2 separate regions of the Homo sapiens genome follow, and region 1 is linked to region 2. The links are contacts of gene promoters, found by promoter capture Hi-C in blood cells and fetal thymus (Javierre and others, 2016). All regions are on one chromosome and are shown on one strand. Each heading gives the region's core, a stretch centred on a gene start or on the middle of the fragment in contact. The rest is flanking DNA. Distances are from core to core; before and after follow the strand shown.

What was found. The method cuts DNA at HindIII sites, captures the fragments that hold promoters and counts their contacts. A CHiCAGO score of 5 or more calls a contact.
Region 1: a fragment that was not itself captured here is called in contact with the fragment with the promoter of ITFG1 in region 2 in 1 of 17 cell types (neutrophils); the score reaches 5.6 in neutrophils.

The regions. Positions count from the first base shown.
Region 1 is chr16:48,629,628-48,635,925 of GRCh38, reverse strand. All of the region lies in intron 1 of LOC105371240 (a long non-coding RNA gene), which reads right to left. Among named protein-coding and RNA genes, the nearest start is that of N4BP1, 23 kb to the right of the region's middle. RefSeq lists enhancers at 5,649-6,148, 6,149-6,298. The HindIII fragment of the contact is 5,727 bases long and covers 1-5,373 here.
Region 2 is chr16:47,456,769-47,462,811 of GRCh38, reverse strand. ITFG1 (integrin alpha FG-GAP repeat containing 1) reads left to right here and starts at 1,749. Exons shown (of 18, transcript NM_030790.5): 1 at 1,749-1,974; 2 at 3,637-3,709. The coding sequence starts at 1,767. PHKB (phosphorylase kinase regulatory subunit beta) reads right to left here and starts at 1,481. Exons shown (of 31, transcript NM_000293.3): 1 at 1,386-1,481. The coding sequence starts at 1,461. RefSeq lists a silencer at 1,371-1,840. The HindIII fragment of the contact is 8,409 bases long and covers 1-6,043 here.

The DNA of each region.
Region 1 (6,298 bases), core at 1,261-3,760, 1.2 Mb before region 2:
GGAGCTGAGCACACCAAGATGCCACAGACTCCACTGTTCCCTGTTGCTTAATCTCTGTTGGCCTCATTCACTTCCTGCCTCAACTCTGAGAGCATCTGAGTCTGTGACCTCTGTGTGTGCTTCACCCTTACCCACACACACGCACATACACACGCACATACACACACATACACACACAAACACACACACACACACACACTCTCTCTCTCTCTTCCAGTCACTCCATCCAGCGTGTATTTTCCCAAACATTCTTTTCCACTCCTTTCTGCCTTTACGTTCCATTTCCTCTGCCTGGAATGCCCCTCATCATCTCTACTCACTGAAATAAGCCTGTGCATTCATTCACCAGCACCCAGCTCAAGTGTCACCTTCTGAGGTGGCAGACGCCTGGCTTGGCATCCATCTCCCCTCCCTGCATGGCCTAGTCTTCCCTGGAGACAGAGATGGTCGTGTATGTGAGTCCTGGAAAATGAGATGGAAGCGTAAGTGTGTGGTGGATGTCATGGAAGGCCACCTAAGGGAAACATCTCTCCTGGGAACTGGTGTGCACGCCGCCTGCCTCCTCCCTCAGTCTAGCCTCTGGAACAGAGAACGCACCCTCTCCATTACTCCTGCCTCCTTCAAGACTCTTGTCAAATATCACCTCTCAATGAGATTTCTTCTTTTTATTCTTTTTCTGAACTCTGTTGCCCAGGATGGAGTGCAGTGGCACAATCATAGCTCACTGCAGCCTCAAACTCCTGGGCTCAAATGATCCTTCCTCCTCAGCCTCCTGAATATCTGGGACCACAGGTGTGCACCACCACACCTGGCTAATTTTTTTATTTGTAGAGACGATATCTCACTATGTTGCCCAGGCTGGTTTTGAACTCCTAGGCTCAAGCAATCCTCCTGTCTTGACCACCCAAAGTGCTGGAATTACAGGTGTGAGCCACTCAGCCCAACCTCAATGAGATCTTTTCTAACTGCCCTACTTAAAATATCGACACCCCTCCCTTCCCAACTCTCCCGACCATCCTTTCCCTGCCTTTCCCCCAATGTGGTCTACTTTTTAATATTGTAAAATGTACATATTTAGATTTGGTATTTATTGCCTGCTCCCCCACTGGAATATCAACCTCACGATCACGAGGGCAGGGAATTGTCTTCTTTTTTTTTTTTTTGGTCTCTTTTAACACTGATGTATTCCAAGCACCCAGAAAGAACCCATGATAGACATTAATAAGTATCCTGAATGAATAATACACCTCAGCCATTCCATGCCATTTGAAACCCAGACATTCTTAAGGTTCAGCGTTACTCCCACTTTCCATAAAAACCAAGTCCTATAGGCTGCCTCTGCATATCACCTCTCTGATCAATTTTATCCTCTCTATGTCCCCAAACATTGCCTGCATTTGAGGCTCTGTCATCTCCCTCTAGCTATGACATCAGCATCCTATCTTTCCTTTCTTTTTTTTTTTTTTTTTTTTGAGATGGAGTTTCACTCTTGTTGCACAGGCTGGAATGCAGTGGTGCCATCTCGGCTCACTGCAACCTCCGCCTCCCAGGTTCAAGTAATTCTCCTGCCTCAGCCTCCTGAATAGCTGGGATTACAGGCACACACCACCACGCCCAGCTAATTTTTGTATTTTTAGTAGAGACGGGATCTCACCATGTTGGCCAGGCTGTTCTTGAACTTCTGACCTCAAGCGATCCACCTGCCTCAGCCTCTCAAAGTGCTGTCTCTCTGTTCTCAATCCTTTCCCCTCCAACCCACCCTACAGAGAGAGGACCTCACAGTGTTAATGTCCTGCTTAAAACCTTTCTATGGCAGGCGGGCATGGTGGCTTACACCTGTAGTACCCCGGGAGACTGAGGCAGGAGGATGGCTCAAGCCCAGGAGTTTGAGTTCAGCCTGGGCAACATAGTGAGACCCTGTCTCAGAGAAAACAAATTTATGAGTTTCAAGTCAAGGCTAAATTGGAAAAAATAAAATAAATTTAACCAGCCTCTCTATGGCCCCCATGGCCTTCTCAGGAAATCCAGTCTCCAGTGGTCCTGAAGCCTTAAGTGGTCTGGACCCACTTCCTGCTGTGCCTGCTCATCCTCACACCATCCCCCACAACATTCCTCAGGCCTGCAGAACATCTTACTGCTGGCCACAGAGCTCTCCTGCAGACATTTTCATCTTCTGCTCTTTCTGCTGAAAATGATCTCCCTGCGTCTTTTTTTTTTAAGAGTCTTGCTATGTTGCCTGGGCTGGTCTTGAACACCTGGATTCCAGATATCCTCCCGCCTCTGCCTTCTTGGTAGCTAAGATTACAGGCATGAGCTGTGCTATTCAGGTTCCCCTGCCTCTCATCAGGCTTGTTCCTACCTTCCTTGGGGACGTCCTCCAGGAAGCCTTCCTTAGCTTCACACCAGGCTGGGTGAGCTGCCTCATATCTGTGTTCACATATCAACTTGTGCTGATCTTGGTCGGCTTTTCTGACTCGGCCATGAGATCATGTGAGCCTTGAGGACGGAGTTTTGTCTTATTTTATAATCCCAGTGAGGCTGGGTGCAGTGGTGTGCATCAGTAAACCCAGGTTCTGCAGTGAGCTATGCAGTGAGCTATGATAATATCTGTGAATAGCCACTACACTCTAGGTTGGGCAACAGAGCAAGACCCCATCTTTAGAAAATAAAAACAGGCCAGGCACAGTGGTTCACATCGGTAATCCCAGGACTTTGGGAGGCCAAGGTGGGTGGATCACCTGAGCTCAGGAGTTTGAGACCAGCTTGGCCAGCATGGCAAAACCCCATCTCTACTGAAAATACAAAAATTAGCTTGGCACGGTGGCGCATGCCTGTAACCCCAGCTACTCAGGAGGCTGAGGCTGGAGAATCGCTTGGACCTGGGAGGCGGAGGTTGCAGTGAGCTGAGATCGTGCCACTGCACTCTGGCTTGGGTGACAGAGCAAGACCCCATCTCAGAAAAAAAAAAAAAGTAAATAATAAATAACAAAACAAATTAAATTTATTATTTAAATTTTTTAAATAACAAATGATAATCCCAGTGAGGATACATCATCTAAATAGTAGGCACTTAGTAAATAAGAAGGGAAGGAAAGCAGGAAGAAGGGAAGAGGGAAAGCAGAAAAGAAGAAAGAAAGGTCTCAAATGCTCAGCTCTCTTTCTGGGCACATGGTGGGGCTGCACCTCTCCACCCACTTGAGCTCGTGCACGGCCATGTGATCTGCTTTGGCCCATGAAGTATGAGTGAAAATGACATGTGTCACTTTTAGGCAGAAGCAGACAGGTCAGTCTGTGGTCTCCATCCTCTTTTTACTGCCTGCTGGGTCACAGAAGCACTTGTTGAGATGGAGTCTCTGTCACACAAGGCCCCTGAGTGACTAAGACAAGCAGAGCCCCTGGTGGACCTGCAGTGGACACACAGCATGGGGTGAGAAAGACACTCTGTTCTTTTGAACTGCTGAGAGTTTAGGGTTTATTATTAACCTAGCACAACCACGTCTCTTCTTTTTTTTTTTTTTTTTTGAGATGGAGTTTCACTCTTGTTCCTCAGGCTGGAATGCAGTGGCGTGATCTCAGATCACTACAACCTCCACCTCCCAGGTTCCAGCGATTCTCCTGCCTCAGCCTCCTGAGTAGCTGAGATTACAGGTGCCCACCCAAAGTACTGGGATTATGGGTGTGACCCACCTTGCCCAGCCACGTCTCTTCTTTTCTTTTTTAATTTCAACTTTTGTTTTAGATGCAGAGGATATACATGCAGGTTTGTTACATGGGTATATTGCATGATGCCGAAGTTTAAGGTACGATTGATTCTGTCACAAGCATAGGACCCAATAAGTAGTTTTCCAACCCCTGCAGCTCTCTTCCTCTACCCTCTAGGAGTCCCCAGTGTCTATTGTTTCCATCTTTGTGTCCCAATACCCAATATTTTGCTCCCACTTATAAGTAAGAACATGGGGTATTTGGTTTTCTGTTTCTATGTTAATTCAAGTGCAGTTGGTTTGAGGTATCAGGGAAAATCGCATCTTTTTACCCTTCTATTTGCTAAGAATATCAGACACTACCTTGCCTTTCCCACTGCTATACAATTTCAATTCCAATTGTCTGTTTTCCATAGATTCTTGCAAAGATGCTATAAGGTGAACAGGTGAAATATTATTTATTTATTTATTTTTTTTTTTTTTTGAGACGGAGTCTCGCTCTGTCGCCCAGGCTGGAGTGCAGTGGCGGGATCTCGGCTCACTGCAAGCTCCGCCTCCCGGGTTCACGCCATTCTCCTGCCTCAGCCTCCCAAGTAGCTGGGACTACAGGCGCCCGCCACTACGCCCGGCTAATTTTTTGTATTTTTAGTAGAGACGGGGTTTCACCGTTTTAGCCGGGATGGTCTCGATCTCCTGACCTCGTGATCCGCCCGCCTCGGCCTCCCAAAGTGCTGGGATTACAGGCGTGAGCCACCGCGCCCGGCCCAGGTGAAATATTATTATCCTCCACCTACAAACTAAGAAAAAGAACCTGAATGACTGCCCGGGACTCCCTGGGTAGGAGAGAGGGGAGCTAACACCAGAGCCCAGGTCCCCAGCTCCCCACCCAGGGCTTCACTGCTTGGCTCCAGTCAATAAAATAGCACAGGTCTAAAGAGTCTAAAATCTGGAGGTCCCCACCAGAAAGGGATCCTTCTTTTTTTAAAAAGGAAATATATCCAAAGGTTAGAATCAGGCCAGGCGCGGTGGCTCACACCTGTAATCTCAACACTTTGGGAGGCCAAGGCAGGTTGATCACTTGAGGTCAGGAGTTCGAGACTTGCCTGGCCAACATGGTGAATCCCCCATCTCTACTAAAAATACAAAAATTAGCGGGGAATGGTGGCAAGTGCCTGTAATCCCAGTTACTCGGTAGGCTGAGGCAAGAGAATCGCTTGAACTTGGGAAGCAGAGGTTGCAGTGAGCCGAGATTGCACCACTGCACTCCAGCCTGGGTGACAGAGTGAGACCCCTTCTCAAAAAAAAAGAAAAAAAGGGTTGGAATCGTGGACTTTAAAGCCCGACTGCCCAAGCTGGCCCCAGCTCCAGCCCTCACTACCCAGAGATCATGAGCATAGCTCCCTCTCTCTCAAGCTCCATTCCTCCAGGCCTGTAACACTGGGATAATAATAGTATCTACTTCTTACTCTTGTGAGTTTTAAATAAACAAATCCATGAAGAAGACTTGGCATGGCGTCTGGCATATAATAAAGGCTCGCTGAGATTTCTCTATGACTACCCTGTTATCACAGTTCTTTCCATTTAAACAGCCGCCTTCCAGGACTGTAATGCCAGGCTGCTGCCACAAGGTGGCACTGTTGTCTCTGGCCACCCTTCCTGAGTCGCTAAAGCTTCATTTCTCAAAATGCCAAGTTGAGTCAGGACGGAAGGAGAACCCAGAAAAAGATGACAGAGTCCGAGAACTCCAGACAAAAACGTGACTTCCTTGTCACATCAAAAATGATGAAACTGCTTCCGTCTTTTATCTCTGCTCTTTCTTGTAGCTGGATCCCCACACCTCAGAATAGGCTGAAGCAGCTGGTAAAATTGGGCTGCCCAGCCCCAACCCCACACCACGGGTATAACTGGGCGGGGGGTCCTAGTGGAAGGTGATTGAATCCACTGCTGTAGAGAAGGGCTTCTAGGGCTGTAGCACGCTTACGCCTCACCTGGGCACCTTATGAAAATGCAGATTCCGATTCTCAGCCTCTCTGTGCCTTATTTCCTTCATCTCAAAATAGGGAATAATAATGGCACCTACTTCAGGGAGTTATTATGCAGAAAAAGATGACAGCATGATCAGTTAAGTGATTAATTGAATAAGCAGGGCACATGGCGAGTGTCCTTGCAAGCTTTTATGTTAGAGAGAAAAAAAAGGTCAGGCTTGGGGCTGTGGGATGGGGCCTGGCACTGTGCATTTCTTTTTTGTTTGTTTGTTTTTGTTTTTGTTCTTTGAGACGAATTCTTCACTCTGTAGCCCAAGCTGGAGTGCAGTGGTGCAATCTCAGCTTACCGCAACCTCCACCTCCGGGGGCTCAAGCGATTCTCGTGCCTCAGCCTCCCAAGTAGGTGGGACTGCAGGCGCGTATCACCACGCCCAGCTAATTTTTTGTATGTCAGTAGAGACGGGGTTTCACCATGTTGCCCAGGGTCATTCCGAACTTCTGAGCTCAGGAGATCCGCCCGCCTCGGCCTCCCATTACAGGTGTGAGCCACCGCGCCCAGCCAGCACTGTGCATTTCTAACAAGCTCTTGAGTGAGGTCTGTGCTGCGGTTCC
Region 2 (6,043 bases), core at 500-2,999:
AACAGAGTGTTCGGTGTATGATTTCTGAAATTAGATTTTCAGAAATTAGATTTACTTTCTCCAAAAAAAAAAAAAAAAAAGTCAGTGTGCACAACAGACAACTAAGAACTTCATAAATAGGAAAAGCCCAAAACGTAAGGAGAACATATTAGGTGAGAAAATAATTTTTTTTTTTTTTGAGACGGAGTCTCACTCTGTCGCCCACGCTGGAGTGCAGTGGTGCGACCTCCACTCACTGCAGCCTCCGCCTCCCAGGTTCAAGCAATTCTTCTGCCTCAGACTCCCGAGTAGCTGGGGTTACAGGCGCCCGCCACCACGCCCAGGTAATTTTTGTATTTTTAGTAGAGATGGGGTTTTACCAGGTTGGCCAGGCTGGTCTCGAACTCCTGACCTCAGGTGATCCGCCCGCCTCGGCCTCCCAAAGTGCTGGGATTACAGGCGTGAGCCACCGCGCCCGTCCGAAAATAATTTCTTAATATCAATGCAAGTGCAAAGTTAATTTTCCTAGCTAACACCTTTCACACCCACCCCCAATAATGACACTTCATCAATTCTTTAAAAGGGAAGCTCCTTAGCTGAAAACCTGCATTCCGCCTTTCACCTTTCCTGTTTAAGTGCATGCCTTTTGTTCAAGATTATATCCAGCCAACCAGGAATACAGGAAGTTTTAATAACGCCACAAGTCATGACGTTGCAATTTGAACAAGTCAGTTCGGGACACTTGGAACTGTTAAAACTGCCTGCAAGGCACCTTCTGACCTCTATGCTTTCGGGTTTGGAAACCACACAACCTGGGGCCACTTAAGAAGCCCTTTTCTTTCTGGGCCCTAACTATACTCTTCAATATCTGAGGCCCAGTCTCCTTCAGTTTCTGCTAGATAGATGACAGGTCTACTGCTTAGAACCTGTGGGGAATGTAAAAGGGATATAAGACATAAAGCAAGGAGCCCAGACGCCGGCTTTCTGCAGCCAGATCGTAGTTACATCTGACTTGGTCTGATTAAGCTATCTGACTTTTGCAGAGAACATTCACAGGAAAGACACATTCACAGGGAAGACACATTCCCTTTCCCAGGAATGTGCCGCCGCCCGATTTTTAAGTTAGAAGACTCTAAGGGAAGTCCGGACCGCTGCCTACTTTCCGAGTGGGGCTCACAAGCGGAATAGAGTCGGGGGCACACGCAGAGTGGAGCTGGCTCTGCCACCTAATTTTTAGAGGTGGAGGAAGATATTAGAAACAAGGCCAGGGCCGCCACCTGCTTTCTAAGGAGGAACTCGGGGCACAGGTTCATTCCCAGGGCCCCCACCTGCCTCCCGCCAAGGCGCTTGAGGCGAAGCACCACCCAAGGTACTCGGGTGGGGGGCGGCGCCCCAGCCAGCCAAACCTGAGCGCTTGGTCCGAGCTCTTCGCTCCAAGACCTTCCAGCTCACTTCTGCCGTGAGTCCCGCCGCCCCCGCCATCGCGCTCCGGTCGCCGCCTTGGCCACCGCCCCCGGGGCCGCCTGTCAGCAATGCCGGGCCACGCCCCCCGCACGACACTGTCGGGAGGCGCGCCTGCCGGAAGTGAGCGTGAGGGCGGCTTTCACCCTAGCTCCACTGCTTTTTTAGCGTCGGAAGGGCAGCCCTAGTGGGAGAGAGAAAAAGGAGCCGGCAGCGGCTCTTACGCGTCCCGGGGCTGCGCGCCACTCTCTCGGCCGGTAACGCGGTGCTTTGCGGCTGTCGTCAAGCGCGGCGTTGGGCCGGCGGGCGGGGGCTGAGGGGCTGCCATGGCGGCGGCGGGCCGGCTCCCGAGCTCCTGGGCCCTCTTCTCGCCGCTCCTCGCAGGGCTTGCACTACTGGGAGTCGGGCCGGTCCCAGCGCGGGCGCTGCACAACGTCACGGCCGAGCTCTTTGGGGCCGAGGCCTGGGGCACCCTTGCGGCTTTCGGGGACCTCAACTCCGACAAGCAGACGGATCTCTTCGTGCTGCGGGAAAGTCAGTGCTTGCCGGGCCCTCCCTCTGTTCGCTGTCCGTGTGCCTCTCCCGGTGTTCCCCAAACCCATTGCCCAATGGCCGGTCCTTCTGCATTTCCTGGTCCTTCTCTCCCAGCCCTGTGGCCTTCCCTTTAGCATTCTTAACAGCTTGTCCTTTTGCACCACCCTTTCCAACCCCAGGTTCTGACCCAGCTACCCTACAGTTTGACCTACCCTCAAAAGCCCTGACAGCACCTCAGTTTTGTTCCTAAGAAGTCTGCGGCCCTCACCCAGTCACCTTACCCCCTCCTCCCCATGGAATCACCTGTTTTCCAAAGTGCTTCCTGATTCCTAGGAATCTTTGTAGCTTGCCTCAACGTTCGCTCCCAAGGCCCACTCATTCCTTTCTATTTTGCTTCAGTCTTCCTTCCCCGTTGATGAACATGAAAAGGTGCAACCTGACAATCTCTTCTCATAGGGGGCTTCTTCTTGCCTCCCCACCTACCTAATTCGCCCACCCCTTTCTTTGTCAAGGCCACAACTTTCTATGAAGCGAATGTACCCTTCCAAGGGCCTAAACACTAAACAGCTCACACAAGCATTTTGCAGGGACCACTGATAAACCCAATGCCTCCTTGGGAAAGCAGTCTCAAACTACAGAAATTTCTCTCTTGAGCTGCCTGTTCTTTCGTGTACTCCTTCCTCATCTTGGTCATCACCTTAGTGTTCCAAATGTCTACTTTCTTTGCTAACTTGTTCTTGGAAATTCTTTGCTTTGACAATCGTTAAACTAACTTTTTTGTAAATCTTGATGCTGACAGTGGGCATTAGGGGGTCTTAGGGTTCTTGAGTACCTACAGAAGCAGGTGCTGCTTAAAGATCAATGCTGTGAAGGAAGGAAGGAAGAGCTACTCAGAGCTTGCCTGACAGGATCCTGAACCAGACTTCTTGGAGCCCTTGCGGGGATGCAGGAACCTCTTACAAACCCTGAATATTTTCCCAATCTTTTTGACTCCTCATTTTGCAGTGTACTGCCAAACCTGTTGCTGCTGTGTCCAAACTGGATACAGAGAGTAGCCTTGACTTTAAAGATGGCCTGTGTTTGATTAAACAATTCCAAAAGTCTGTCTCAATGAGTGCTAATTGAGCTCCAAGAATGTGTCACCCTCTGGAGGATGGCCCCATAGGAGGAGGGTCTTGGAGGATTCAGCATTTTGTGCTCACATGCTTAATTATGTCTTTGTCAGATATCTACAATGGGAGTCCCTGCATCCTTGGTGTGATGCATCTGTGTAATGAACCAAACAGCCTTACAAGGGACAGCATTGCTAGATTCGGGGAAGACAAGTCTTGACATGTAGTATAGTTATAAGGCATCTTTATATGGTTCTTTTAAGTCAACCAATCTGACTCCTCGCAGAATCCACTGGCTTCAGTTTCTCTTGATCAGCTGCTTTTTCCCATGTTCATCCTTTCTATTTCTCTGCTACTTTGAACATTGAACTTGTGATATAATGTTAGGCATCTCCATTGGACTAGTGGGACTATGCTTGAGAGGGCAGATGAACTGGAGTAGAATAAAAGTTTTCTTGTTGAGAACAGTGCCCAGAAACCTTCTTGTAACCACTGATTAGATATCTTATCAACAAACATTTTTCTAATATCATATATTTGTTTTCTTTAGGAAATGACTTAATCGTCTTTTTGGCAGACCAGAATGCACCCTATTTTAAACCCAAAGTAAAGGTATCTTTCAAGTAAGTACAAATATGATTATTTTGATAAAACTTTAGTCATTAATATAATAATGGATATGCAGTAGCTGATTGGTTGTCTTTAAAGTCAGCCTTAGTGTTGGGATGCAAAACCACTGTTTGTGAGGTATGAGTAGCAAGTGATTTTTTGGAAAAATAGTGAAAATACCAAAGTTTAAAAATGACTTTAAAGAAATAAATTTGAGTGGATCCAGGTTTGTTTCTATATAAACACCCTTTATTTCCTTGCAATCTCGTATCCCTCGTATCCCTTCTTGAATGTGTCTCGTTCTGTGCCTCATCTTGAGGCAGCAGTCACTCACAGTAGTCTCATTGTATTAGCCATGTGTTGTGTTTTGTGGAAGAGGGGCCTATTTTGCAGTGGGGAAAAAGTCAGTGTTCTAATTTTTTTGTTTAATTGACTGATGGTGAGTTTTTAAGGTTGACTTGGAAGGAATTCAAGTTTAATTATCTGAATTTTTAAAATGTTCAAGTAATAGTTATTTTTCTTTTCTGTGGTTGGCATTGCATGAAACAATGACCACTCCCACACCTCTACCTCCATGATAGTGACCCAACACAGTTTTGAAACTACATTCATTTGAAGCAAGCATTCGTGGCTGTCTGAATTCAAGCAAGAAGAGATGGGTCAGTGCAGGCCAAAGGGGCAGCTTCCAGAGTCATGGAACTTGAGCTTGACCTTAGTATAAATAAAAAGTTAGGTGAAGACGTTCAACTTGGAAGTTCAATTTTGGGGACAGAGCATTTATAAGAGATAAAAGTAAGAACAGCATGTTATGAAGAGGAGGTAGAAAGATCTGCCTGACAAAAGTGGAAGGTACACTTCGGGGAGTTAAGGACTAAGAACATGAGATAAGAAGGGCAGACTGGGAGCCTTCAGATACAAAAAAGAGTTTGAATGCTGTCCCATTAGAAGAGGGGAATCATCAGGTCCTTGTGCAAAGGAGAGATGATGAAAACAGTATTTTAAATTGATTTACTTGTAAACTATATGCAGAATGAATTGGTTTGTAGAAGATTAAAGACTACTTAGGAAGCTGTATTTAAAAAGTCCCTGTGTGGGCTGATTAGTTCTCAGACTCTACAGTATTTTGAGTAAACTCAAACTCATGTTAAAAAGAAAAATGGCCTTGAACTAGAACTTTGAGGGGAAAGTTATAAATGGATAAACAGGAACTTATTTCCCTTGAGAAGTGTTTTTGGGTAGTGAATGTCAGCATGCTTGGAGTGGGGAAGAAACTGAAGTTGAGTGTATATGAGAAGTGAACTAACTGCATAGAGGTGATTTTTTTTTTATTAGAAATTAAGGAAATTTAAAAGATGTAAATGGCATGTGTTCTGATAAGTTAAAACAAATATCCCAATTAATTTTTTTATTAATGCAATGCACTTTCAAAATTTAGAAACTCTTGTTTGTGTTATAATTTAAAATATTTTTCAAAGTAAAAATAACTATTCTTCACCCTTATTCTCCCCCACACCCCTGTTTCTCTCTCAGATGCAACCACTTTTAAAACCTGTAGCTGATTCTTCTAGTGTTTATTACCATATTTTAAAATAAAATTTTACACTAATTTTCTTGAATTATCATTTTTAAATATTCAATTCTTGTTTTTTAACTAACATAATTTATCTACATTGTCCCAGTGTAATTAAATCATAATTTTTTGTTAAATTAGTAATCATTGTTTACCTTTTAACCATGTGGTGTCTATGTACTTCAGAACCAAGTAATGTACAGTATTTCTTTTCTTTTTCTTTTTTTTTTTTTCTTGAGACAGAGTCTCACTCTGTTGCCCAGGCTGGAGTGCCTTGGCATCATCTCAGCTCACTGCAACCTTTGCCTCCCGGGTTCAAGCTATTCTCCCACCTCAGTCTCCCAAGTAGCTGGGATTACAGGTGCCTGCCACCATGCCTAGCTAATTTTTTGTATTTTTAGTAGAGATGGGATTTCACCATGTTGGCCAGGCTGGTCTCGAGCTCCCGACCTCAGGTGATCCACCTGCCTCGGCCTCCCAAAGTGCTGGGACAGTATTTCATTTTTTGTGCAGCTTGCCCTACTGGAATAAATGATTGCTTTTTAAAAAATAGATTGCATAGTTTTCTATGTACATACCCTTAATTTCTTTGCAGATATTCCATCATATCTGCCATATACCTATCCTGCATTTTTGTTTTTCCCATTGGATCCTCTACATTCCTATCCAGTCTGGATTCATTCTCCAGGCCTTTTGTAGACTTACTATGTGGGGAATTTCCCCATGTAAAAAAAGAAATTTCCTCATTTACTTCACGGGGGTGTGTCTTTCCAGAAAT